Regions from separate parts of the Homo sapiens genome. Here all the other regions are linked to region 4. The links are contacts of gene promoters, found by promoter capture Hi-C in blood cells and fetal thymus (Javierre and others, 2016). All regions are on one chromosome and are shown on one strand. Each heading gives the region's core, a stretch centred on a gene start or on the middle of the fragment in contact. The rest is flanking DNA. Distances are from core to core; before and after follow the strand shown. Region 1 overlaps LYN (LYN proto-oncogene, Src family tyrosine kinase). Region 2 overlaps TGS1 (trimethylguanosine synthase 1). Region 3 overlaps TMEM68 (transmembrane protein 68). Region 4 holds the start of LYN (LYN proto-oncogene, Src family tyrosine kinase).

Evidence for each region. Contacts are between HindIII fragments. The CHiCAGO score rates a contact against its expected background, and 5 or more counts as called.
Region 1: a contact is called between a fragment that was not itself captured here and the fragment with the promoter of LYN in region 4, in 7 of 17 cell types (neutrophils, total B cells, naive B cells and 4 more). The highest score is 20.3, in neutrophils.
Region 2: a contact is called between a fragment that was not itself captured here and the fragment with the promoter of LYN in region 4, in 2 of 17 cell types (neutrophils and naive B cells). The highest score is 11.6, in neutrophils.
Region 3: a contact is called between a fragment that was not itself captured here and the fragment with the promoter of LYN in region 4, in 1 of 17 cell types (neutrophils). The highest score is 10.1, in neutrophils.

The regions. Positions count from the first base shown.
Region 1 is chr8:55,962,259-55,967,768 of GRCh38, reverse strand. LYN (LYN proto-oncogene, Src family tyrosine kinase) reads right to left here. Exons shown (of 13, transcript NM_002350.4): 9 at 872-1,054. Among named protein-coding and RNA genes, the nearest start is that of SNORA1B, 62 kb to the right of the region's middle. The HindIII fragment of the contact is 5,688 bases long and covers 1-4,909 here.
Region 2 is chr8:55,782,928-55,788,355 of GRCh38, reverse strand. It overlaps TGS1 (trimethylguanosine synthase 1), which reads right to left. Exons shown (of 13, transcript NM_024831.8): 3 at 2,465-2,637; 4 at 1,296-2,118. Among named protein-coding and RNA genes, the nearest start is that of TGS1, 12 kb to the right of the region's middle. The HindIII fragment of the contact is 6,073 bases long and covers 1-5,250 here.
Region 3 is chr8:55,759,307-55,765,377 of GRCh38, reverse strand. TMEM68 (transmembrane protein 68) reads left to right here. Exons shown (of 8, transcript NM_001286657.2): 2 at 1,398-1,442; 3 at 2,350-2,743. The coding sequence starts at 2,419. Among named protein-coding and RNA genes, the nearest start is that of TMEM68, 11 kb to the left of the region's middle. The HindIII fragment of the contact is 4,212 bases long and covers 1,133-5,344 here.
Region 4 is chr8:55,876,388-55,882,060 of GRCh38, reverse strand. LYN (LYN proto-oncogene, Src family tyrosine kinase) reads right to left here and starts at 2,226. Exons shown (of 13, transcript NM_002350.4): 1 at 1,958-2,226. RefSeq lists enhancers at 134-243, 2,423-2,482, 3,043-3,132 and silencers at 1,443-1,622, 1,653-1,942, 2,023-2,192, 2,213-2,272. The HindIII fragment of the contact is 13,046 bases long and covers 601-5,673 here.

The DNA.
Region 1 (5,510 bases), core at 816-3,315, 86 kb before region 4:
TTGATTGCTTGAAGTCTATTCTCCAGCAATTCTATGATTACATAGGACTTTAACCTCCACAAGTTTTAAAAAACATTAATATTTAAAAGTGACACCCTGAACACTTAGATAATGCTGAAAAGGAAAATGAATATTAGATAACGCTAAAGAACAAATAGAGGCTGGGTGCTCATGCCTGTAATCCTAGCACTTTCAGAGGCTGAGGCAGGCAGATTGCCTGAGCTCAGGAGTTCGAGACCAGCCTGGCCAACATGGCGAAACCCCATCTCTACTAAAAATACAAAAAATTAGCTGGGCATGGTGGCACGTGCCTGTAGTCCCAGCTACTAGGGAGGCCGAGGCAGGAGAATCGCTTGAACCCGGGAGGCAGGGGTTGCAGTGAGCAGAGATTGCACCACTGCACTCCAGCCCGGGCAACAGTGTGAGACTCTGTTTCCAAAAAAAAAAAAAAAAAAAAAAAAATGAAAGAGGAATTTGGTACTGAACAATCCGTACTAAATCTGTAGTATTAGAATTCTGGGAACTCTTCACATTTTAAGCATATGTATTTCAAAAATTCCTTTTTGAAATACATAGTAATTCATTTGATAAATATTTATTGGGGGCTACTAGATATGGGGTACTATTCTCAGGGCAATAGGTACACGCAGGCAGATGCAGAGAAAACAGGAGGATTAGATTTCAATTCTGTGACATGGATTACTTCTGGTGATTAGGTTTATAAACTGCTTTGTCTTCCCATATTTCCTGATTTTTCGGTAGTGGGTATACTGTTTGATAATTAAACTAGTTGAGTGACCTCTGAACACTTACACATTTTACTTTTTGAGTTTGAAGCCCTTGCAAGCTCTGGGCAGTGGGAGGAACTCACCCTTGGCCATGTACTCGGTGATGATGTAAATGGGCTCCTCCCTGGTGACCACAGCGTAGAGCCTCACGAGCTTGTCATGCTGCAGGGTCTTCATGAGGTTGGCTTCTTCCAGGAAGGCTTGCACAGACATAGTTCCTGGCTTCAGGGTTTTCACAGCCACCTTGGTACTGTTGTTATAGTAACCTAGGAAGAAAAAAGAAGGCGGGCATGCTTTATAAAACAGAAAATCTAGCCGGGGGAGGTGGCTCACACCTATAATCCCAGCACTTTGGGAGGTCGAGGTGAGTGGGTCACCTGATGTCAGGAGTTCGAAACCAGCCTGGCTAAAACAGTGAAACCCCATGTCTACTAAAAATACAAAAATTAGCTGGGTGTGGTGGCAGGCGCCTGTAATCCCAGCTACTCAGGATGCTGAGACAGGAGAATTGCTTGAACCCAGGAGGTGGAGGTTGCAGTGAGCTGAGATCGCACCATTGCATTCCAGCCTGGGTGACAGAGTGCGACTCCGTCTCAATTAAAAAAAAAAAAATTAAAACTTCACTTTGTAGATGCAGAGTTAGCAAAAAATTTAATTACAGATAGAAAAAGCCTGAGTTAAAACACTATGTAGTGATAAAATTAGGGGAGGCTAGATGAAAAGTATCTAGGAATTTTCTTTCTTTACCAAAAAATGTTTAAATTATTCAAAAATCAAAAGGTTTCTATGAAATAGTAGCAAAAAAACGTTTTTATTGGCACTCTACCATGAGGGCTAATATTTATTTATTTATTTTTAGACTACGTCTTGCTCTGTCGCCCAGGCTGGAGTGTAGTGGCACGATCTTGGCTCACTGCAACCTCCACCTCCTGGTTTCAAGCGATTCTTATGCCTGAGCCTCCTGAGTAGCTGGGTTTACAGGTGCCCACCACCACACCTGGCTAATTTTTGTATTTTTAGTAGAGACGTGGTTCCACCATGTTGGCCAGGCTAGTCTCAAACTCCTAACCTCAAGTGATCCGCCAGCCTCAGCCTCCCAAAGTGCTGGGATTATAAGCATGAGCCACTGTGCCCAGCCGAGGACTAATATTTTTCTCTAATAATAAAATGTTCTTTATTCAAGACCAAAAAAAACAAAACAAAACTCTATATATGCTATAATCCCTTACATACATATACATACACACACAGGCATACACTCACATTATAATCCCCATTTTAAAATACAGACATATTTTATAGATACACAGACACACACATATAAACAACAGTCTGGAAGAAAAGACACCAAAATATATCAAATGCTGGTTATTTCCAATGGTGTGATTACGAGCGATTTTAATTTTGTTCACCATATCTTTAACTATTTACCACATTTTCTTTAAAAAAGGTGTTCTTTATAAAAATTACTTATATATACTAACTTTAAAGTACAATATGCTAGAGTCAAACAAGCACTTCCCAAAATTTGCAGACAACTGGACTTGGGTGACTGTTAGTGAAAAAGGATCCCCCACTAAAAGGACAGGGAGCCACTCCCTCCACTCCTCCCCCACCCAGGAGATGCAGCAGGTGCCCTGGGAGGCCTTCAGGGGAAAAGCCTGCATTTGTTCACCCCAGCGTTTCCCACAATTTCTTGACCTCAGAACACTTGTTCAAGTAGCCTCTTACACCGCATGGAACACGCTCTGGGCAATACTGACTCCTTAGTATAGTTCCCCCGAGGCACCACCCTTCTGGGACTGGGATTGAGCACTTTAATCCTGACTTTCTCTTGGGAAAGCCTTTTCTCAGTAATTTGGCAAAGCAGAAATATTAATAATCATACTCTTCCTTCCTGTCCTCTCTTCTGCTTCCATCTTTCTCTTGGAAATGTTAAAAAAAAAATGGGGAGAAGGGAGTAATAGCTGCTGGTGTCACTGCAAATCTTCCTGCAGTTCCTGCTGCCTGGTGCGCAAAAGCTGGATAGCACCTGCCCTATCCACCTAAGGAAAGGTGACGTGGAGTGGACGGTCCCCTTTTTAGGGTGCAAGAGTATCTGTATGTGAATAGCATAGAAAGATGACTGGAAGCCTGCTGAGTAAAACAACAGTGATTATCCCTGGCTGGTAGAATTTGGAGTGACTTCTACTTTCTCTTGTTCTTTTCTATTCTGATTGGATTTGTCAATGAGTATGTACTCTTTTCTTTTCTCTTCTCTTCTCTTTCTTTTTTCCAGGAGAGACAGGGTTTTGCCATGTTGGCCAGGCTGGTCTTGAACTCCTGACCTCAGCTGATCTGCTCACCTTGGTCTTCCAAAGTGCTGGGATTGTAGGCATGAGCCACTGTGCCCAGCCAAGTATGTACTTTTTAAAAAATGATTTTTTTAAATAATAAAGAAATGTATTATACATCTATTTCCAAGCCTTCAAACAAATAATAAAAAGTTTATTTATAGCTAGCAGTCAACCTATCCAATGATGTTTCTTTTGGTCATTAAGACTGATTCCTCTATTAAAATGTTTTATTTTGTATTCCACTTTGGTTAATACTTAGGAGCTTGCAGTGCTCTATAGAAAAATGAGGCTAGACAAGGTGGTTCATGCCTGTAATCCCAGCACTTTGAGAGGCAGGAGGATCGCTTGAGCCCAGGAGTTCAAGACTAACCTGGGCAATATAGTGAGACCCCCTTCTCTAAAACAAAACAAAAAAAGAAAAGAAAAAGAAAAATGCAGTACAAGATAAGTGTTAGAACATATGGAGAAGATAGTAACATAAAGCTGACAAAAAAAAACCATCCTAGGTCCTTTTAAAAAGCTACCACCTACCTAAAATAATGGAATTATGAATATATTAAATTGTTCTGACATCTAAATGCATAATTACAAGCAATATGGCCTTTTCTGTAGATCTTAAGAGTTATTGTAAAGTACATTCCACCAACAAAAGCCTTTTAATATTACATTTAAATCAAAAAGGTTTTATTATAAATTTTTTAACGTTTATAAACCCTAACCTTAACCCCAGCCCTAACTCTAACCCTAAGTTACATGAGCATATCCATAGCAAATCACAGCAGGAAAATACATGATATAAAATAGATGAAAATACATAAACTATATGATACATATAACTGCAAGGAACTTGCATCCAGGATATAGAAAGAATTCTTACAAATCAATAAGAAAAATCAGAAGAAATAGGCAAAGACTTGGAAGGGCATTTCAAAAGAAGAAATTCATATGAGTAATAAACACGTGAAAAGTACTCAATCTTATTAGCAACCAGAGAAATGCAAATAAAGTCATGAGAAACCACTGCCGAGCTCAGCAAAAATTTTTAAAGTCTGGTAATATCAAGTGCTGATGAGCACCTGCCCCTTGGGAGGGACTCTGGAGCAGCTGCCCTAGGCCTCATTCTGTGTTCTTTGCTGAGCATCACTGAAATTCAATTGCAGAGCTTCTGTGACAACATCCAAGGTGTCCATGAAGGATGCTGAGTGCACACTTCCTTCCGGATAACCACCCACTGCCTGTGCTGCCTTGGGGCCCACATCTCTCTAAGTACAGCTCTGCTAGTCAGGAAAGGGGACGTGGGGACTGGCATATTGCTGGTGAGAATCTTAAGCTGGGACCAGCACTTTGCAAAATAAGTTGGCAATAACTTAGAAGAGCTGAAGATTCATACACCTTACGATCCAGCAAATCCACTCCCACTCACCCTAGAGCTCATGCATGCTTGCATCAGCACAAAAATGAGGCACAAAAATGTGCAGCGCATTGTTCATAGCAGCCCAAACTGGGAAAAACTCTGATATAGTTTGGATGTTTGTCCTCTCCAAATCTCATGTTGAAATTTGATCCCCAGTGTTGGAGGTGGGGACTAGAGGGAGGTATTTGGGTCATGGGAATGAATCCCTCATGAATGGCTTGGGGCCATCCCCGTGGTAAAGAGTGAGTTCTCGCTCTATTAGTTCACAAGAGAGCTGGTTGTCTAAAAGCATGGCACCTCTTCTGGTCACTCTCTTGCTCTCACTGTGTGACATGCTCACTCCCTTTTGCCTTCCTTTTTGAATGGAAGCTTCCTGAGGCTTCACCAGAAGCAGAGACAGGTGCCATGCTTCTTATAAAATCTGAAGAACCGTAAAGCAAATAAACATTTTCTTTATAAGTTACCCAGTCTCGGGTATTCCTTTAGCAAAGCAAAATGGACTAACATGAACTCCAATTTCATCAGTAAATGGTGAAATAAATGGATAAATGATCGTATATCTTGAAAACACATGCAGCACAGCACAATATGGCATGAAGATGAATAAACCATAGCCACACCCAAAAGCATGAATGCATCTCACCAATACCATATGGAATGAAGATGAATGAACCGTAGCCACAGATGCATCTCACCAACACGACATGGGATGAAGACGAATGAACCATAGCCACACCCAGAAGCACGAGTGCATCTCACAAACACGACATGAGATGAAGATGAATGAACTGTAGTCACACCCAAAAGCACGGATGCATCTCACCAACATCATAGGGACTGAAGATGAATGAATTGTAGCCACACGCAAAAGCACAGATGCATCTCACCAACACCATATGGCATGAAGATGAATAAACAATAGCCACACCCAAAAGCATGGATGCATCTCACCAACACAACATAGGATGAAGA
Region 2 (5,428 bases), core at 965-3,464, 94 kb after region 4:
GACAGAGCTCTTTAGAAACTGTCAGCTGGATGAAGTATTATCAGCAATCTGAGATAAGCAAAGCAAATCTGATTGTTAAGTAAAAGGTCAAAACCATTTGTTTCACAAAAGAGTAAGGCTGAGAAGAAAGTTCCTCTACACTAGATGTCTTCAGCATGTAACATCAGGATGCCAAAACTTCAGGATATGCAGATGTCACAGAAATTTCCTCCTCTCCCATTTTCCTGGTGCTGTTAATTGGCAGAAGCCTCTCCCCAGCAAGAGCACTGATAGGGTTTGGATGTTTGTCCCCTCTAAACCTCATGTTTAAATGTGATCCCTAATGTTGGAAGTGGGGTCTGGTGGGAAGTGTTTGGGTCATGGGGCAGATCCTTCATGAATGGCTTGGTGCCTCCCCATGGTAATGAGTTACTGCAATATCTGATTGCTAACAAGAGCCTGGGACCTCCCCCCTCTCTCTTGCTCTCTCTCTTGCCATGTGGCATGCCTATGCCCCTTTCACCTTCTGCCATAATTGGAAGGTTCCTGAGGCCCTCACCAGGAGTTGATGCTGAGACTATGCTTCCTGTACAGCCTGCAAAACTGTGAGCCAAAATAAACCTCTTTTCTTTAAACATTCCTCAGTCTCAGGTATTCCTTTACAGCAATGCAAAGTAAACATTCTCATCGCACCGTACTCAGATTAACTCCTTTCAAAACACTTCTCATTGGCATTCTCTAGTCCTGAGTGGCACCAGTTTGCACAATTAGCTTTTTTTGGATCAGTTATTCAGGAATCAATCAAGTTCCTTATCCTGGATATTTTATTGATGAGAATCCTGAAATTAACCATTCCAGTTATAAATTAATATTGTGCCCCATTGAGATCTTTTTTTCACAGCAAGACTTCACTTGTCCTAAGTGAATTCCACATATGACTCATAAGACATTTGCCTAATGTCAAATGTACATTCTCAATTGCTTTCTAACATGCCTCTTATAAATTCATTTGCTGTGGAAAACTAAAAGTTCCAAGCTCACTTTATATTAGATTTCTCAAGAGATTCCACATTTTCCTTCATTAGCCACCAAAGTACAAGAGAAGGAATGATACTTTTGAGAACTGCATGCAAATATTCTTATTAATAGAAAAGGATAACTTGTGATATGAAAACAGGATGGATTAAATCATTTCATTATTATATGAAATGTACTTGGTATTATTTAACTCTACAATAAAGGATTAGTAGTTATTTTGCTAAATGAATTCATTTTGCTAACCATTACATGGCAGAATAAATCTTGGTTAATCTTACCCTCAGCTGGTGGGTCTGTGTTTGTATTCCCCGATGAGTTGCTTTCCTCATTGGTTCCTCCATTACGTGGTTCACTTTGGCCGGAAGCAGGGCACTCTCTTTTGCTACTAACTTCACTTAGCTGTTGATGACCATCATGACTTGTACAGGAATCTAATTGGCTCTGTGTTACTTCCTCTGAATTCAGTTTTATGTTACTAATTCCATCAAGTATTTCACTATGATCCTTATCACTTGTACCAGAGCTATCATTATCAACCATAATAGGTGAAGATGGAAAAGATACTAAGTCAACTTTCATGCATTTTTCATCGTTCTTGTCATCAGCTTCTGTTTTAGATGTGTAAGTATCTGTATCACAGCTTTGCGAGGCATCAAAAGTCCAACCCTGAGCTTCCCAATACTGAAATTGTTCCAAATAATACCAATAAAGTTGACTATAATGTTGCTCCCATTCTTCCTTTGTATCAGGAAAGTTCCAAGGTTCAGAAGATAGTGCTTGACCCGGATGTTTTTCTTGCCAACTTTGCCACAATAGTCCTCCTCCATATTCATTCCAATACTTTTCCCATTTCTCTGTAATTTCTAGCTTTGGAGATAATGTGTTTTCAACTGGAGGATTTTCTGTCTCAGTATCTTTTTTGCTTTGAAGTTCATATGTTCTGGTGTTCTCATACTGTTCAATTGAAGATGGATCATCTGAAGCCAAAATGTCGTCTTCTTCATATTCTTTTCTCCAAGATTCTTGCACAATTTCATCTAAGTATTTCTTTTGATGTTTTTTCTTTTTTATTTTAACTTTATTTCTAGTATTCATAGATACCTATATCAGATAAATAACTTGAATATAAAATGCACTTTATGAACTATAAAAGAAAGTAGAATCCAAGTCTATTTTGACATTAAATTAAACAAAATACTCTAAAGCCCCACTATGGGCTTTTAGCTCCACAAACAAGTGATATACTATCTAAGTTTCCAAGAGGAGGAACAGTCACACTTGGGACATATTACAACTTTCAGTTCTGGTTAATTTATAAATACATACATTTAAAAAGAGGTAGAGAGCGCTGATCGTGAATGCATATAATCTGATAAAAAGTAATTCCTTGCGATATTTTATAAAGAAAACGAAGAGAGAGAAATAATAAAAGTAAATTAATATTTACCTCAAAATCCTTATGTGCAGTTATCCTACCAAATTGAAGTGGCAATCCCATACTTCTCATGAGTTCAGCCTCAGAATCAAGTTCACTTTCATCCAGGCCTATGCCTTTGCTGTCATGTGATTCTGCAGTACCACAGGAATAACCACCTTCCTCTTCTTCTGTCGCCTGGTCTCCTATAGACACCATTTATTAGCTTAGTTTTAAGGAAAACTTAAGAGGCAGGTTTTCTTATTCTCATTTAAAAAAACCTGAGATCCAGAGTGACCCGCCCAAAATAAAGGTATGCAAATGTTACAATTTTTTTTATTTTTTAGAGATGGGGGTCTCACAACACTGCCCAGGTTGGAGTATAAGGGCTATCTGCAGGTGTGATCATAATGCACTAAAAAGCTCTGAACTCCCGGGCTCAGTCAGTCCTCTTGCCTCAGCCTCACAAGCAGCTAGGATTACAGTTGCATGCCACCTTGCCTGGCCTGCAAAGTTACAATTTTTAAAGGAAAAAAGAAAACAAACAAACAAAAAAACAATTGACGGTATGCTGGGCACGGTGGCTCACACCTGTAATCCCAGCACTTTCGGAGGCTGAGGCAGGCGGATCACTTGAGGTCAGGAGTTTGAGACCAGCCTGGCCAACATGGTGAAAACCCGTCTCTACCAAAAATATAAAAATTAGCTGGGCCCAGGCTGTAATTCCAGCTACTCAGGAGGCTGAGGCAGGATAATTGTTTGAACCTGGGAGACAGAGGTTGCAGTGAGCCAAGATTGTGCCACTGCACCCCAGCCTGGGTGAGAGAGCGAGACTCTGTCTCAAAAAAAAAACAAAAAACAAAAAACAAAAAACACCAATTGACAGTAATATGGAGTAGTAACAAAAAAAGCCAATGAAGAATCAACGGAAGAATCAATTTCTTATTGGGCTCTGCCTGCCACTATTCATCCAGCTGCCCATTTAACTTACTCTTATTGAGCATCTGCTCTATGTTGGGCACTGTGCAAAATACTGAGGATGGAAGGAAGACAGAACAGGCCATGTAACCCTGGTACGTGGAGAAAATACTTATATGTTCACATTCTTTATCTGCAAAATTACTGAACTAAGACAGTGAATTTAAAAATCATGATTTGTGAAGTTATTTTAGGAGGTATTAACAAGAGCGGGTGAGAAGCATGTCTTCATGCCCCTCACAGACACTTCAATACAACTGGGATTTAGGTTCCGGGATTCTGTGGAAGAGCTGATTTAACAAAAGGATTCTGCTATTAGAAGTTTGAAATCCTGGGGTTGGGCACAGTGGCTTATGGCTCTAATCCCAGCATTTTGAGAGGCTGCTTGAGGCCAGGAGTTTGAGATAAGCCCGAGCAACACAGCAAGACCCTGTCACTACAAACAAAACCAAAAACCAAAAAACAAACTACCCTGGTGTGGTGGTGCCTGTAGTTCCTGCTACTTGGGAGGCTGAGGTGAGAGGAATGCTTAAGCGATCACCACTCAGACAACAGAGCAAGACCCTCTCTCTCTCTCAAAAAGAGAAAGGTTTGAAATCCCCTAAACTGGAAGATTTTTTTCAAGCTCTCTGAATCTAATTCTTATAGAAAAACCATTTATTACAACAAAGTAAGTTTTACTTTACACCAATATGGTTATCTAATAGTAATTATACCATTAATTGAACATATGCCATTCAAGTGCTCTATTAACTTTAAAATGTGAGATAACAAAAAATCATTTTATGTATTAGCACACTCAATTAGCATTGGGCTGCACTCCAGCTTGATGGTCTCAGGCAACAGAACAGTAAATCTTATATAGCCAAAATGAAGACTGATAAAGAGAAATCTCTTGTGTGCAAATTCTGCTACAAGAGGGAGAAAGATACCTTTCTAAATAATGAAGGGGATTCCACTCACTACTCCATTCAAATATACTTACGAAAGCTCAGGAGACAGCAAAATGGAGAAAATGAGTAAGCTAAGTTTTATGTTCCTTTCATTGTATGCATATTTTCTTATGCTCGAGGAGCCTAGTGTTATAGGAACTTTATTTGTATAGCATAGCACTGAAACACAAACCAAACATTCCATCCAGTGATCAACTGAAGAAACAGTAATTTGTTCCATCGCCATGAGAGTTAAAGGGTTTCCGAAGGTAACTATGACACTGTACTTGGGCTGACTTTGGCTTCTAACTCCACGCTGTAATTTTCTCTGTGTCTAGGAACACAAAAGGTCTATGTGGAAGGACAAATGCAGTAGGGAAGTTTGAGACATCAAAGTGAGGCTCAATGTACAGTATAAATTATATTTGTTACTTGGGAAAGTTAACCAAGATGACAGTCTCTTTACTTCAGGCAAAAGACTATAGATGTTCACCTGGAATTTTTATCCCGTAGCATTTTTTTATCCTGCAGCATTTACCTACATAATACACTTCTCATGAAGTGTATTATGATTAGAATTTACATATTCTAAATTGGAGATGGAGTCTCACTCTGTTGCCCAGGCTGGAGTGCAGTGGCACAATCTCAGCTCACTGCAAACTCTGCCTCCTGGGTTCAAGGGATTTTCTTGCCTCAGCCTCCTGAGTAGCTGGGATTATAGGTGCCCACCACCATACCTGGATAATTTTTGTATTTTTATTAGAGATGGGGTTTTACCATGTTGGCCAGGCTGGTCTCGTACTCCTGACCTCAAGTGATCTGCTTGCCTTGGCCTCCCAAAATGCTGGGATTATAGGCATGAGCTACCACGTCCAGCCAGAAACCACATATTCCCTACTTTTCAAAGCTTTAAATTCCAGGTTGCTCTTATCTAATGGTGGCAACTCAGGAAGGAACACTACACACAGCAAAAGAGGCTACATTAAGTCAGCACAGGAGCTATAGAAAAATAAAAGATCTGCTTTCATAGAGATTCCAGAACCATGTTATAAAAGAAAATAAAAATTGTCTGATTACAGAATTATTT
Region 3 (6,071 bases), core at 1,989-4,488, 120 kb after region 4:
CAACTCGGAGTGGTCTTGAGTGCTGAAAGCTTAAGAAACCAGGGGCTGAGAAGTAGTTGAAAGAATTAAGGATTCTGACTGGAGAAGGAATTTTGTGGCTCATGGCAGCTGTTTTTAAACTTACAAGGTTGTTTAATGGAAGAGGGTCTGTGGTACAAAACTAGGTCCAGTAGGGAAAAGTTACGGGGAAGTTAAGTATAAGGAAGACCTTTTTAGTAGTTCTGATGGATGGTTGCTATGTTGCATTCTAAATGATCAAACATGGGTAAATTATAGTGATTTGACTTTTTTTATTTTTATTTTTTGAGACGGAGTTTCACTCTTGTTGTCCAGGCTGGAGTGCAATGGTGCAATCTCGGCTCGCTGCAACCTCCGCCTCCCAGGTTCAAGCGTTTCTCCTGCCTCAGCCTCCCGAGTAGCTGGGACTACAGGCGTGCACCACCACTCCCAGCTAATTTTATATTTTTAGTAGAGATGGAGTTTCACCATGTTGGTCAGGCTGGTCTCAAACCCCCGACCTCAGGTGATCCACCTGCCTTGGCCTCCCAAAGTGCTGGGATTACAAGAGTGAGCCACTGCGCCCAGCTGGTGATTTGACTTTTTATATGGATTGATTAGATGATGATGTAAATAAAGCCCAAGTTGTGGGCTCAATGTTTGCTATGTTCATCTCCTGTAACCATAACAGACCAGATTTCTCACAAGTAAATGCTATTGGTTACAAGGAAGTTAGATGAAATGTTTCATTCCTGGGAGAACAAGTCAGTGCCTGCCCTCCTAATAAGCCAGTTAGCAAGATAATCTTAGAATAAAAACAATACATTTTTCTTATATGTACATCTCCTCCTCTCCTTTCATCCTTTGCTTTCATTTATTCATTTTTTGCCTCAGCTACAAAGGACTTGAGATAATTTTCAGTAAGATTATATAGTATGGAATAATGATAAAATAGTTCTAAGAATACAATCAAAGTATGGAGAAAGGAAATCTTTTGTAGGAAAATATTATCATAGGGCTAATATAATTGTATAATTGAATGTTATGTTTCACCTTCAGGTTATCTGGCAAAGTTACTAAAAAGAATCATAGTCAGTTATATATCTTCATACTTTTTCTCCTAAGAAACAAAGCTTTTGAAAACTTTGTTTAAAATAAATTCTTAGGTGGGGCTCTATATAGTGGCACTAAACAGTGTAGAGTTGTCTTCACCAAAGCAATGGTAGCATGAGTGTACTTTTTAATTGTAATATACCAGTGTGGGCCTATAATCATATTTCTTAAACATTTATGAATGTCTCTTGCTGTTTATTTTATAGAAATGCTAACTCTAGGTATTAATGATTATCTTTTTTTTTCTTAGTAATTTATTTCTTACATTTGTTTACTGTGCTTTCCAGAATAGAGACATTGAAGTTTGGGACAAGATATTTATCTAACTTCTGGTAAGTCCAATGACTGTTTTAGAGAGTGAATTTGTAAAATAATTATACAGCTATATTTTCAGTCATTTAAGATTTAAGATAAAAACAGTACTGATAAATTTTTATTGCATAATGAACTTTTGTAAATCTGTTTCTCTATAAAAAAACAATATCCATTAATGTATGTAATCATTTCGTAAAGAATTGGGTTACTTTTACTGAATTAGGTAGATATTGATGTTTTCTTTTGTGCAGAGTTATCTCAATATGGCTGGGCATGGTGGCTGATGCCTGTAATCTCAGCACTTTGGGAGGCTGAGGTGGGTGGACCACTTGAGGTCAGGAGTTTGGGACCAGCCTGGCCAACATAGTGAAACCCTGTCTCTACTAAAAATACAAAAATTAGCCAGGCATGGTGGCACATGCCTGTAGTCCCAGCTGCTCGGGATGCTGAGGCAGGAGGATTACCTGAACCTGGGAGGCAGAGGTTTCAGTGACTGAGATCGTGCCACTGTACTCCAGCCCGAGCAAAAGGGTGAGACTCCATCTCAAAGAAGAAAAAAAAATTATCTCAATGTGACCTGGTTTAAGATCTAATTTTTCAACATGATCCAATTAAGATGTGAGTCAAATTATTAAAATCAATCTGAAATTATATTCCTCATCAGCTTTATTTTCTTCTCTTAATTATAGCTTTATTTTCTTCTCTCAATTATAGTGAATTATTTCAAAAGCTAAACACGACATACTTCATGAGCAGACAGATGAAACCTTATAATTTTCACATTTAAATCTGCAACAAAGTTAACCATTAACCATCTACTCATTTTGGGTATTAAGAAATGACTCTATATGCTATTTAAGTAGAGTAAAACATTTAACTTTATAGCTGTGGAGAAAATAATACTGGATTATTTTTCCCTTCTAGTGTCAAAATTAGCGACCTGCTATGGCAATGAAGAAAGAAACTGAATTTGTCATTTTCACCTGAAGAAAAATGATAGACAAAAATCAAACCTGTGGTGTAGGACAGGATTCTGTGCCCTATATGATTTGTCTGATTCACATACTCGAAGAATGGTTTGGTGTGGAGCAGTTGGAGGACTATTTGAATTTTGCAAACTATCTCTTGTGGGTTTTTACACCACTAATACTTTTAATACTTCCTTACTTTACTATCTTTCTTCTCTACCTTACTATTATTTTCTTACACATTTATAAGAGAAAGAATGTATTGAAAGAAGCCTACTCTCATAATTTATGGGATGGTGCAAGGAAAACAGTGGCAACTCTGTGGGATGGACATGCAGCCGTTTGGCATGGTAAGCAAGGATACTTTCACCTTTGTGTTGCCATTCATGTGTGCTGCATTGGAACTGTGTTACCATTCCATTTTATTGATTGAGAAGATACTGAAAAATATAATAGAAGTGATATTTACTATTCCCTGTTACCTGTTTGCATGCATTGTGCATATGTATGTGTCTTTCTTAAAATGAGTTTTCCCATAGACGTTGGTTTCCATTAAACAAAGAACCACGCAGCACTGTAGACTATAAGTTGAAATAAGAAAATTTATATTTAAAACATCTAAAAGAGTAAGAGACTAAATAAAGCTGTAGAAAACTGCTTTAAAAATGCTTCAATTATTTAGCATTTACTTCTGTTCAAAATAAGTTTGACTCTACCAGTGTGGATTTAAAAAAATGAAATATTAAATAATATTACATTAAATATAATTTGCATACCAAAATTTATGCATTTTCTGTTGATTCATTCCTGAGGTTGGTGTGTCTTTCTGAATAAATAAGATAGCAATAGATTTCTCTCCAGGATAGTCATTCTTTTCTTTATTACTCGAGAAATTTTGATGTTGTATACTTAATGATTGGTGGTTCTTCTTTGTTTGGCCATCATGAAAATTGCCTTCTGGTGGCCTATTTTTAAGTGGTTAGTGTTTCACTCTACCAACTTTTACTTCATTATTCCAACAATATCTAGTTTGTTGGTCTCTTTTGTTTTTAGACTACACAAAAATACTGAAGATTCAATAGGCAGGTAACAAACATTGGCTTTCTGTATTATGTTGTTGAGCATCACAGTGGTTTCATAGAAGGACATGGAAGGAAGCACAGACTTTAAAAGACACTTGAGGATATATATCACTGAACTATTAGGCTGCTATTAGCAGAAATCACCAGTGACATGCTTATTAGACTAATGTATTTTCATTTTAATACTACATACATACTTAACGAACCTACAAATTTTTTTTGAGCACCTACCTATGCCAGACACTGTCAATTGCTTAATATAAATTAACTGCTTTAAATCTCATTAACATAATGGAGTCTATGTGGTACCCCGATTATACTCATGAGGAAACTGAGGCACAGAGAGGTTGTTATTTGCCCAAGGTATACTAGGAATAGGGCCAGGTTACAACCCCAGATACCTGGGAGTATACATTTGAGAGAGCTCTTGGAGGTAAAATAAACAGAACTTGGGGACTGAGTGTAGAGTCTTGAGGGAGGAGGAGTTAAAGTCCAGTAAGATTTCTACTGCTAGACAGGGAAACATGAACTGGAAGTGCTCCAAGTAATAGCAACCATGTGAGCAGAAGCACAAAGGTGGAAAAGTACTCTGGGAGCCACAGTTAGTTCATATGATACATGAAATAATGTAATGTCACTTTATAGGCAATTGGGGCCTCAAGGGGCTTGAAAATGTTGGACTAGAGTGGTAATGCACTGATACTTTCTCAGCAGGGAGTAGTATGATCACATCTGCTCTAAGAGTGACACAGTTAAATAGCCCTAGGTTTTAAGGTTTACTGGCACTATAGTAAACTATTTTTTTTAAATATTTGATTAGTTGGATTTTTCTGCTTTCAACCAGGTGGTTTGGTATTATGTGAGTAGTTCAATTGTTTATTATTTAAAAAAATACTCTGTAAAACCAGAGAGAACCTTGGTAATATTCTGTATAGAATCCTTCAAAGGAGTTTCTTTATTGCTCAGAAAATGTATTTGATGGGACAGTTGATCCTCAAACTCAGTGACTGTTTTGTAGAGCTTAAAGTAAATTGAATTACTTGAGTTAGAATTATGTAATTGGAAAGAAATGATATAATATGGAAACATACAAAATCTTGGAATATCATTAAATTATTTTTCAAAACATTCTCAAGTCCATTTGAGTAGCTTATTTCATACTAGAATCACAGTTATCATACTTAATTTAATCTGTTTTGTGAAGACCTTATAAACTACTTTAGAAATGTATTTTCTGCTCTGGAATTTAGACTGAAGTCTTTATTTTTTGAATGTTTATTTCGTAGCTGATCAGACAGGAATACACTTAAGGAAAGAAACAGACTAATATTTTCAGATTTCCATATTCTGGACTTTACTTTTGTCTTCTATACAAGTGGCAGCCTTTCTTGAGACAGCTGTTCTATGTGGAGGAATATGGCCCTAAGAACTTACTTTCCTTTCCTATTACAACCACTCTAGATTTCCTTCTTTTTCACGCTTTTTCTTTGAGCCTGATTCTGCCCTTGATCTCTGGATGCTCACTTTTTTCTTTTTGCCAGGACCCGTGGAGGCTGTGGTCTGTAATGGTGTGTCTGACAGTGGTGACATGGGAAGGGAATGTGGATCTTATGGCTAGTGCCATGATCACCATTTTATTCACTCCTTAGAATATCCTGACTTCCCAACTTCTGTGATTTTCCTCTGAGGCATAGTTGGATCTTACTTAAGTCTTTTCTATTCCCTACTAACTGCCAACAGCACAGCGTTGCTGTAAGAAGTAAATTTGTTGGCCTTGGTAGCCATATAGAGAACAGCAGGCAGGTAATGTTAGCTAAGGGAGGAGAAAAAACAGCCAGCCTGGAACTGAGGCTGTGTTAGCAGGAAGCTTCCAGATGTCATCCCTTCTCCAGGTCCACCACCTTTCATCCTGTCATTTACTCCCACTACTGAAACCCTTTCTTCTGTTTACAGAGACATAAAATAGGGCTTGCAGTGTGGAAGGAAGGGGCAGGGATGGCATGAGCCTCTGATCTCGCTTCTACAGGACAGAGATTTTCTTGTAGTCTAGTTCAAATCTGTGATTAAAGTTTTTCCCCCACATGTAATAAGATTGTACAAAATCATGTTTGTTTTTTTCATGAATAGAATGAGGAAATTTCTAAAGAATTGTTTAAATACATAAAAATGAAGTCTTATGTTTGTGAATGAACTTAAAGTTTACAGCATTATGATATCTGTGTATATATAACAGTGTAAATGGTATTTTATTTTACATTCAGTCACTAATAATTTTTCCTGTTTTAAAAATATGTATTTTTTAGTTTTATTTATATTTATTTATTTATTTTTGAGACAGAGTCTCACTCTTGTGTCCCAGGCTGGAGTGCAGTGGTGTGAGCTCAGTTCACTGCAACCTCCGCCTCCCAAGTTCGAGCGATTCTCCTGCCTGAGCCGCCCGAGTAGCTGGGACTATAGGCACATGCCACCACACCTGGCTAATTTTTGTATTTTTAGTAGAGATGGGGTTTCACCATGTTGGCCAGGCTGGTCTTGAACTCCTGACCTCAGGTGATCCTCCCGCCTCACCCTCCCAAAGTGCTGGTATTATAGGCAC
Region 4 (5,673 bases), core at 977-3,476:
AGTCAACAAAGCCTCTCAAATCCCCGTTTTAGAAACCACAACAGAAAGGGCCAGTAGGCTTCAAACACCTTAGGGACCAGCTCTATTTCTTCATCTCCCTATGTCCTCAGTTTTGCATAGGGCAAGCTCACAGGAGGCCTTCATTCCTTCTTCCAAGTAATCTCGAACTGAGCACCTACTATGTACCAGGCACTGGGGCTATCATTTTGGACAAGACAGATGAAGCAGTTTTCATGGAGCTTCCACTGTAATGGTTAATACAGACTATCAACCTGCAGACAAATCAATATAACTCTGGCTGCTGCTATAAAGGAAATCTTGGCTGAATAAATGGCCCAAGTGGCTTATCCCAAATCACAGCATATTAAATGATGGAAGAGGCCAAAACTCAAGGTTCCTGGCTCCTACTTTCTCTCCCCTTACATCTGCTGCCCTCTATCCTTCACTCAGCAAAAGGGCCACACATTTACATCCAAAGAGGCCCAGTCACCAAAGACTCTATGATCCAGTGAAATTTATTCAGGCCTCAAAGCGCTTACCTGCTTACCTCCAAATGAGAATGGAGGGACTAACTGGATCCCACCCTTTCCCAACAAAGCTTACTCTTACAGAGAAGGGCTTAGTAAGGCCTGGGTTCTTGCAGTGCCTATTCCCCAGGGCATGGCTTTAGGTGTTGGCTGTACAGAGAAAACATCCCTGTAGCCCACCAGTTTATTGGCTAGTTCTTTAGGGAAAGTCAGACTACTGGGCCCTGCTTTGGGACAGCAAATCCCTCATGTATTTATTAAGCAGATTTACTAATAAGGTCAGATGGCTAAATCTGACATGGTAGTCTTAGCTTCAACATCACCAAGCTGCAAAGAACCAAGAAGCCTCATTTATATGAATAGAATTCACTGCAATAAATAACAGTAACATCGTTTATGAAATGCTTGGTACGTACTAGGGGCTTTGTGTGTACTAAACAGCCCCTGAGGTATATATGCTCTCTCAAAGATGAAGAAACTCAAACAGGGAATTTCAATAATCGGTCCCCTAAATATACAGCCAGAAAAGTGCAAGGCCTAGATTCTGAGCTGGCGAAGAAGGGCGAATTTGGGATAATTAACACACTCGGATATACAAAAACACAACCGCTAATCCACATGACAGGCAGGCTGTTGGAAAGTTACGAATGCACCGCAAGCAAAAGATGCCACCATGGGCCCAGAGAATGCAGGAAAGTGGGAACTGACTCTTACGCCCTTCCCCCAAGGCGAAGGAAAGGCAACCCCTGAATTCTTAAAATAACTCTCGCTTCCTCTCAGCCGGCAAAAGCACCGGACTGCTCCTCGGCAGGCCGAGAGGCGCCGCAGCGGGAGGGTGAGTTCCAGCCTCCGCTGCAGCCCCTCGACGTCACGCTCCTGCCCGGGGCCACCAGGGAGGGCAACTGTCCGCGGGCCTCGAGAGGGCGCCGGCCGAGCCCCATCTCCCACTGCCAGGAGACCCAGGGTCCAGAGGGGAGATCAGATTGCACAATCCGAGGAGTCCTCTCCAGTATCCCCGCCGCGCGCCCGCTCCGCAAGGGCAGCGGCTTCCCCACTGTGTGCGAGAAGCGGCCGGAGCAGGGACAGCAGCCGGCCCTCGGGCCCTCACCGGGAAGGACACGCGGTGAGCCCGCCCCCGCGCCCGCACCTCCCACCGCTCCCCTGCGCGGCTCCGCGGCGGACACCTGCGGAGCCTCAGTCCCCGCGCCCTGGCTCCCCCGGGCCCGGTCACCCGTCGGCTGAAGACATCTAAGAGCCTTCGCCGCCGGAGCCCAGAGGCGGTGCGGCCAGGAAGCCGCCGCGGGCCGCGCCGATGCCCCCGGCCCCGAGTCTACCCTGCGCCCGGGACTCCGGCTGGTGGCACAGCCGCGGCCCCTGCACCCACTGCCCGCGTGCCCGCGCCCACCCCTGGGCTCGCGCAGAGGACTCACCCGCTCGCGGTGAAAGTTTCGGGGCGGCGGAGCTCCACGGTGACTTGAGTTCAGAGTGGGGGGCGCGACGGGGCGGCCCAGCAGGACCTGCGTATGGGGAGGCTGCTGGCCGGGAACGCTGGACGCGCGGCGAGGGGCTGCTGGCGCGGGGCCGGGGGTGGCGCGGCCGCCCCGCTTGCCGCGGGCTGGAGGCTGCAGCGCGTCTGGCCCGGAGGCGCCACGGCCGGGGAGCGAGCGGCAGCGCGGCCCGGCGCGGCGGGAGAGGAACTGGCTGTCTCTGGGCTCGGCCGAGAGGTCCCAGCTACTTCCTGGTGCTCGGATTTGCATATTGAGCCCGGAGGGCGGGGAAGTGACCGTTTGGTCCCTGCCCAAGGTTTGGGTGTTTGGTGTGGCCGTCGCGCAGGGCTTTGAAGGCACAGAAACCTGGCGACTCAGTCTGCAGCTCCGGGGAGTGGAGCAGCCCGGGCCAGCCTTCTCCTGTAGGGACGGACGGAAGGATCTCCAGAGGAGCCTGGGCTTCGCAGGCACATCGACTACACCTCTCGCGTCTCCTTTCCTTTCCTTCCGACCCATCCCCAAGGTATTATTAGGAAGGGGGTGCTCCCAGGAGCGGAGGAGGTGCGCTCTGATCCCTTCCAACATTAGGGGTTCTCTAGAGAAAGGATGCGATATGCCGAGGTGATGCTCGGGGTCTCGCTGAGTTCTTAATAATCATTACAAAGTAAGTTCCTTAAGGGTGTACAGGAGGCTGTTCAGGGCATTGATGGGGGAGGGGATGACGTAGAGTCAAATGGCCCGGCAAGTTCTCCGTTTCTCAAAGCCTCAGTTTCCTCCCAGGACAATGGATGTGAGGATGCCTATCTCGTGTACCTTTCTGTACAGGGCCCGCACTGCCCGCATGCAGGAATGCTGGCGTTATTTCATTCCTACTACAGCTGCGTCCCAGCATGTAGGGCAGTGCTTGCACGTAGCAGCTGGTGCCTAACCAGTGTTTGCTGAAAGAATGTGTGACCGCGTGCTCAAGCTCATGTTCAACTCAATAAATGCCACTTACAAATCCAAGATGTAAGATTAGGCTCGGGCACCGTGGATACCCACTTCTTCTAAGCCAGATTCTGTTCACTGGGATCTCAGCATTGCATTAATAGCAAACATTTACAGAGGGCCTGATGGGCCAGACACTGCCCAAAGCACTTCCTTTCTCTCATTAACAATGTTCTGAAGAGGCTGACCCCAGCTACAGAGCAATAAGTCAAAGCAGCTGCCTTGTGACACAATCTGATACAGCAGTTATTTGTTACTAGGAAAAGAGTACTAAAGTTTGCATACTAATTCCTTAAAAGAAGAAAGGTGGTTTATACCTGTGATGTTCACTGGTATGTAGTTGTTAGTTTACTGCTGAAGAGAAGGGGTGGGTTGCCCATGGAAATACCCATGGGAAGGTGTGTGATTGAAACCTATCAAGAATCCTATGGAGAAAAATAGAAAAATGAAAAAAGAACAAAACAAAACAAAATGAAACAAAAAACAATGAATCCTACAGAATAATTCACTACCTGAGGGCCTATTGCCTAGACTTTTCTTAAGAATGACCTCTCAAATATATTAACCCTACATTAAAGTTTCTGCTGCTACTGATGAATCCTTGAGATCCTGACTAAACGTGTGTGGCAAATAAGAATAGGATTCAAAAACGTTTGGTATTGGTTAATCTATCAGGAATGTCTGTCAGTGTTTTTGGTAAAATGTCTCTCAGGGTAAGGAACAAAGCATCATCAGGCTTACCTGAGCTTGCAACCAGATCCCCAACTCCCTAACTCCTCACAAAATTGTCCTCACTAAGTTCATCTCTTCATTCTTATTTGGAAAAAAACGATACGATGCTAATTTCCACTTCTTAGGCTGCATTTATACTTGCTGAATACTTCATTCAATCATTCTCCATATCTGTCTTTCCTTCTTAATGTCCCATGAAAGTTCTATTTCTCAGGAAAGTTTTATTTAAAGCTCCTATTGATAGGCAACTTTTTAAAGCATCTGTAGCATGTATGGTGTGCAACATTATTTTAAACTAGACCTAGGTACTTTTTAGCATTGTTTGCCCATGTTAGGCTTGTCTCCTCAACTACTGGTAAACTCCTTTTGGGAAGGCACTGCCTTTTATATTTATCTATTCCCCACTCTACCTCCCAGAAATTATGTTGGGTGCTTTAAAATAGTTCATTAGTATTGATTGATTGGTTAATTGATTGATGACTGATTTATCTCACCAGTTTTCTCTAAATTGAGCACAGAAGGCAGTGATCAGAGGCAGGGTGCAAATCAATTAAGGCTCCTTGACAGGATAGATGGGCCTTTGAAGAAAGGAAGGAATACGATGGGCGGGGCAAGAGAAGGCGGTATTGTAAATACGTTATGTACAGTGTATCCTCATTTTTGCAGATATCATATTTGTGAACTTATCTACTTGCTAAAATGTATTTGTAATCTCAAAATCAATACTTGAGGTGTTTTCCCAGTCACTCATAGATATGCACATCCCAGAGCAGTAAAAATCTTGAGTTGCCCCACGCACACCCTCCCAGCTATAGTGGAACAAGGCGATGCTCTGCCTTCTTGTATTCTTTTTGCTGTCCATTTAGTTTATGCTTTCCACACTTCTGTGCTTTTTGTTGGTGATTTTGCTGTTTAAAATGGCCCCCAAGCGACTGAGCTCAGTGGCTCATGCCTGTAATCCCAGCACTTTGGGAGGCCGAGGTGGGAGGATTGCTCGAGCTCAGGAGTTCAAGACCATCCTAGGCAATATCGTGAGACCCCCCCCACAATAAAAAAATTAAAAAAAATAAAAATAAAAATAAATGGCCCGAAGCGTAGAGCTTGCTAAAGTGCTGTCTGTTGTTGCTAAGCACCAGAGGCTGTGGCGTGCCCACTGGAGAACCGTCCTGCAGGCAGGAGCTACTGTGCTATTGGTTGTGAACTCAATGTAATGAATCAGCCATATATTAAATAAGGTGTCCATTAAACAGAAACACACACCATATAAGGTTATGTATTAATCATAATGTAATGAAAATGTTGTGTCCAGAGACTCACAGGAACCTAAGAAGCAGTGACTCGGTATTCGCTAATTCAGTGTTCACAGTGACTATAGAACATAACTACCACAAATAATGGGACGCAGCATACAAGAGCATCCCATCATCCACTGTGGGAAAATGAAATATCTGACCTCTAGGAACTTCTTCATTAGCACCGCCATCATCATCTCATGCGTGGTCATGGTGCTTGAGGCCAGGATTGGTCATGCTGCTCACCTGTTCATGTTGGTCCACCAAATCATCTGTGCTGCAACCCATCCCACTGCCACTGTGTGGGCTGCCCCTGCTGCCTCTTCTAGTATTCTTCCACCTAACTCTTGCCAACTTGGCCACAGACCTAACTACCAAGTAGCAAATAATACAGAGTAGTGGTGCTCAACCCTGGGGGCACATTAGAATCACCTGAGCTGCTAAAATATCTCCATGCCCAGGCCCTACCTAGACCAGTTAAATCAAAGTCTTTGGGGGATGGGGATGGTGAGGGGAACCCCAATTATCAGAGACTGAAAACCTTGCCAGGTGGTTCCAATGAGCAGCCAAGTTTGGGAACCACTGGTGGAGTGTGCTCCGCCCTCCCCTAGCCTGGAGCTCACCTCTCTGAACAACGTCCACCTTCCT